Linked DNA regions of Homo sapiens: region 2 is linked to region 1. Evidence: promoter capture Hi-C in 16 types of primary human blood cells and fetal thymus (Javierre and others, 2016). All regions are on one chromosome and are shown on one strand. The core of a region is centred on a gene start or on the middle of the fragment in contact, and the rest is flanking DNA. Distances in the headings are between cores, read along the strand shown.

Region 1 (2,700 bases), core at 165-2,664:
TATGGTCCTAAATAAGATCCTTTATCCAGGAATGCCCTAGGTTCCTATATTCTGAGATTTCACAAACATCCTCATTTTAGCTTCTGACTACCAATTTCAATGGTAACTTTTCTTAAGCCTTATTTTCAGAAAGTAGAGTCCTTCTATTTTTAGTATCTTGCAACGCCCAAGCCCCCGTGCACTTCTAACCCACTACAGATACTGTACTGCAACATTTTCTCCGTGCATAAACGCCTACCTTTCTTTTTTTAAAGGCTAGTATATTGTTCCATTATACAAACGTACCGTAATTAATATTTCACCAGCTCTTACTAATGGACTTCCGGTCGTTTCCAATTATATTATAAATATTACATACAATGCTCAGGTCAACAACTTTTTACATGTGTATCTTTAGCGTATGCAAGAGCAACTAAATTACCACTGGGTCATTTCAAGTTGCTCCTCTTTGAACTGTTTTGAGCTTAGATCTATCTCTGAACAGGAACAAAAACTAGAAAGCACCCAAAACTCTGGTTGCAGATGCAGAAATACAGTGTGGCACAATGCTAATGGGGGAAATGGTCTCTTCTTTGACGGATCGCCTATTAGCTTGAGACTAGATCTTAAAGGGTTCCCAAAGCAAGAAAATACACTGTAATTATCGAAGAATTTTAGATACCTCAGAGATGAGGTTAAGAAATAGTAAAAGCTTAACAGTCGAAGATCTGAAGCTTCAATTTCATTCTTTGATGTTCCCGATTACAGAAAGTTCAAAGATGATGTTTAAAAATATTATATATGCCCAAATGCTTAAAAAAAAAAAAGGAAGCATGATAAACGTCATCGCCCAGCCTTCTTAAAGATCGCTCCCACCCGCGGCTAGCCGGGCAGGAGAAGAGACTCGAGCGGCACCCGAGCCGCATCCACGCCGCCCGCCCGCCCCTGGGGTCTGGGTAGGTAACGGGCCCGGCGGGAAGGAGGGGCTCCCAGGCCGTCCCTCCCAGCGCTCACCTCAGCTCCTCGTCGACATTCCCGCGGGGCTGTTCGGCCGACGCCACCATAGAGGAAGTCGTAGAGGTCTTGTTCTTCAAGATCCCCTTGATGGGCCGGTGCGAGGCCGTCGAGGCCGCCATTGCCGGGCGCTCCGGCTGTCGGCTCAGGGTCGCTGCTTGGCGTGGGGTCCGCGAAGAGAAGGGTCGGCACAGCAGAGACTCGCAGGCAGCCGCAGATCCCGCTCAGGGCTAAAGCGGCCGCAACTGCTGCCTCGGAAACGGCTACCGCAGCGGTTGTCACGACACAACGACCCCGACGCCAGAGCCAACGCCGAACGGGTGGCGGCTACTCGCGCACCCTTAGCCACTGGCACTTGACCCGCGGCTCGCGGAGAGACGCCGGCCTAGAGCTCCAGCGCAGGAGCGACGCGACGCCGAAGCCAAGCGGACCCGCCCTCTCGCGATATCTAGGGAGGAGGCGGGGAGAGGGCGGGGCGAGAACAAAGCCGACCTCCTCGCCCCGCCCCCTCCGTCCCGCCCGGGCTGCTCGCCCCGCCCCCGCGCGGCGCTGGGAGGCGGGAGCTGTCTCTGAGAACCTGCGGGAGAGCGCCCGGGCTTGCTGCTTCCCGGACCCGCGCGTCTCTCGAGCACCCTCGTCCCACCACCTTGTGAGGCCGTAGTGTTATTTTTATTTTTTAGATCAGCAGACTGAGACTCGAGGTGACGTCACTCCGCAGAGAGGTTAGCTGACTTGAAGAAAACGGGTATCTCCTCTTTCCATTTCGCCCGTGTAAACAGCCGAACTGCCTATTATAAAAGCATGGACTGCCAGCATTGGAGTGGTCCTTAGAGGCCTATTATGAAATCATAGAATGTCTGCATTGGAATCGCCTCACCTCCTTTTACCGCTGGAGAAGCCGACGGACAGACGGGCAGCGACCCCCGCCGTCGCACAACCCGTCTAGGCAGAGAGCGCAGGAGACGGGAGGGCGGCAGGGACACATCTCCCAGCCAAGGACCTCCTGGGCCCGCAGAGGCCGCGACAGGTTCCCCCCACAGAGGGAACCAACTCTGCCGCAGGTTGATGTGGACTTCAAGCCTGCAGAACGGAGAGCCCATTTCCATTGCTTAAAGCCACCTCGTGTGTGGTATTTGTTATGGTCCCTGTACACTCCCTTCCCTCCCTCTCCCAAGTCCAGTCCGCAGCTCGCTCATCACCAGGCTCTTTTCCATGACTCTTTCTTGATCAGGCCTTTTTATCGTCCTCACCACAGGTTAGAGCACAGCAGACTGAGCCACCCAGAACTGGCCCCTCCGGTGGACCAGCCCCTGCGGATTCACAGACCACTGGTCCTGGAAGGGACCTTGTCAAGCAGGCCCATAAGGTGGCTATTCAGCCTGTTTCTCCAACAACCCCAGGGGCTAGAAGCCCGCCACACCCCCGTGTAACTCATTTTGTTTTTGGACAGCTCTGACTCTGGGAGTTCTTAGATTGAGCTGACACCTCGCTCCCAGCAATGTCTGTCCACTGCTGTGGGGGGTGAGAGGAAGCGTTTTCCCCTATCTAGCCCCTATAGCAGCAGTTTCACTCCCATGGCTCATCTCTGGACCACAGTCTCATCTTCTTTAACACAGGCTCTGTGCCTTTTGAGGATGACCCTGTTCTGTGTCCTTAGGACTCTGCCCCTCAGGGATGACTGTAGGGTTCTGAAAACGATTGTTTTTA
Region 2 (2,700 bases), core at 153-2,652, 320 kb after region 1:
GCGTCCCAGATGCAAATCAGTAAGAACCACCCGAGACAGTGACAGACAGGTGACAGCGAGTGCCTGCGTCCCAGATGCAAATCAGTAAGAACCACCCGAGACAGTGACAGACAGGTGACAGCGAGTGCCTGCGTCCCAGGTGCAAATCAGTAAGAACCACCCGAGACAGTGACAGACAGGTGACAGCGAGTGCCTGCGTCCCGGGTGCAAATCAGTAAGAACCACCCGAGACAGTGACAGACAGGTGACACAGAGTGCCTGCGTCCCGGGTGCAAATCAGTTAAGAATGACCCGAGACAGGATGGGACAGACAGGTGACACCGAGTGCCTGCATCCCAGGTGCAAATCAGTAAGAACCACCCGAGACTGGGACAGACAAGTGACACGGAGTGCCTGCATCCCAGGTGCAAATCAGTAAGAACCACCCGAGACAGTGACAGACAGGTGACAGCGAATGCCTGCGTCCCAGGTGCAAATCAGTAAGAACCACCCGAGACAATGACAGACAGGTGACACAGAGTGCCTGCGTCCCAGGTGCAAATCAGTTAAGAACGACCCGAGACAGTATGGGACAGACAGGTGACAGGGAGTGCCTGCATCCCAGCTGCAAATCAGTAAGAACCACCCGAGACAGTATGGGACAGACAGGTGACACGGAGTGCCTGCATCCTGGCGCCAGGCGTGCTGGGCGCAATAAGACAGACATGTCCCCCATCCATCGCGCCAGTCCCTTCCACGGGGTGAGCACTATTATCTACACGCTTTATATGTGGAGAAACTCCGCACCGTGCACAGGGCCACGCTGCTGGGACAAGGGCAGCAGGTATCTCCAGGGCCTGGCCCGTGTCAGCCCCTCCTCCCGCCAGTGCCTCCTGCCATGGTGCTGGCTCCAGCCATGTGACCTCAGTTCACTTCTTTTTGACTTGACAGCGCTCTCATATATATATTTACATAATATATAAAGTGTGTTTATATATGTATATATTTTAAATGTCTATATATTTTGTTAAACTATAATATAAACCTTTTACAGGAAAGACAATATATTTTCTTTTTAGAGAAAATTTTTTTTTTTGGAGACAGTCTCCCTCTGTCGCCCAGGATGGAGTGCAGTGGTGCAATCTCAGCTCACAGCAACCTCCGCCTCCCAGGTTGAAGCGATTCTCCTGCCTCAGCCTCCCCAGCAGGTGGGATTACAGGTGCCCACCACCATACCCGGTTAATTTTTGTATTTTTAGTAGAGACCTGGTCTCGCCATGTTGGCCAGGCTGGTCTCGAACTCCTGACCTCAGGTGATCCTCCCTCCTTGGCCTCCCACAGTGCTGGGGATTACAGCCATGAGCCACGGTGCCCAGCCAACACTGAAATTTTAAATGTTACTTTAAACAGAAATATGGAAACACAGAGGTGAGAAAGAGGTGTGCAAATCATGGGGTCCTAAAAAGTGCCATTCCTGGAGCCGCTCAGGGTCACTGCAGGTGCTAGGGAAGCAAGCCTCCTTCAACCAGAGAGGCTCCAATTCCCTCTTGTACTCATTTGAAAACCAAGTGGCTAAAATGTCCAAATAAACACATTTAGGAAAAACGATTTGCTGGGCCCTGTGAGCGCCTCCCTCCCGCAGCTGGAGAGCTGTGTCTCCCTGGCCGGGAGCGGCCTGCGAGGTGTTGGGCTTCCTCCCAGTGTGGCAGGCTCTGGGACAGCCCTCCTGGGGCACGGAGCGGGGCAGACTGTGGGGCTCACTCACTTGTGGTGGGCAGGGCCCCAGGAGCCCAGAAGGTGGCAGCCGGCCTGCTCCAGGTTCCAGTCGAACATCTCCAGCACTTTGTGGCACTCCCCTCTGGGCCGCAGACCCAGCCCGAAGAGCTGCTCCACCTGGGGGTAAGGGTGGCGCCATGGACACGCGGGCCCAGGGCACCGACTAGGGTGGGGAAGAGGGGAGTCGGAGCCAGGGGGCGTGGGGCTGGGGGCAGCAGAACCAGGCTTCAGGGTCCCTGAGAGCCAGAGTGAGCAGGAGGTGGCGGTACCTTCAGATACTGGGCAGCCCTCTGCACGCTCCAGCCGTGGCACTGCAGGGCCGCCTGGCACTCCTCTGTGGTCACCCCATGCACCATGGCCTGCAGCTGGGCACACCCACCCCTGTCAGCACCACTAGGGCCCACTGCTCCAGGCCCCTTGGGCCCTGCCCCGCTTCGCCCACAGCCAGGCTGGGTGCTCACCATCTGGATCTTGTCTGCTGGCCGGCCCGCCTCTGGCCCATCGCCAGGGCAGCCCCTCTGTGGCAGCCGAGCAGTGGCCCTCGGGGGTGGTGGCCGGGCCCCTGGGTTGCTGTTGTTGGTGGAGAAGTTGGCCTTGGGGTCCAAGGCAGCCTGGGGCATCGGCCGCACGGTGGCCGTGGGGGCGGCGGGGGCTGGGGTGCTGGGTGGGGGCAGCAGCAGAGGCACAGGCAGGGGGGTAGGCTCCTCGGGGCTCTGGGCCTCACGCAGGAAGCGCTGGTAGCGCTCCAGGTAGGATGGTCGCTCGGGCAGCAAGTAATAGTGGGTGCTGCTGACCTTCTTGCCATCCCGGACGATGGGCAGGATGCAGGGACCAGCCCGCGGGCCAGGGGCCTGGATCACCTGGGGGGTGGCGTACTTGGGGTCTGAGGCAAAGCTCTGGGTGGTGGGCATGGTCTTCCCAGGTGAGCTTGAGAGCCGGGGTGGC

The links. The method cuts DNA at HindIII sites, captures the fragments that hold promoters and counts their contacts. A CHiCAGO score of 5 or more calls a contact.
Region 2: a contact is called between a fragment that was not itself captured here and the fragment with the promoter of PPP1R2 in region 1, in 3 of 17 cell types (naive CD4 T cells, non-activated CD4 T cells and total CD4 T cells). The highest score is 7.0, in naive CD4 T cells.

The regions. Positions count from the first base shown.
Region 1 is chr3:195,541,911-195,544,610 of GRCh38, forward strand. PPP1R2 (protein phosphatase 1 regulatory inhibitor subunit 2) reads right to left here and starts at 1,415. Exons shown (of 6, transcript NM_006241.8): 1 at 994-1,415. The coding sequence starts at 1,115. RefSeq lists a silencer at 1,387-1,626. The HindIII fragment of the contact is 8,075 bases long and covers 712-2,700 here.
Region 2 is chr3:195,865,145-195,867,844 of GRCh38, forward strand. TNK2 (tyrosine kinase non receptor 2) reads right to left here. Exons shown (of 16, transcript NM_001382273.1): 13 at 2,217-2,700; 14 at 2,025-2,120; 15 at 1,745-1,872. Among named protein-coding and RNA genes, the nearest start is that of LINC01983, 6.1 kb to the left of the region's middle. The HindIII fragment of the contact is 9,288 bases long and covers 1-2,700 here.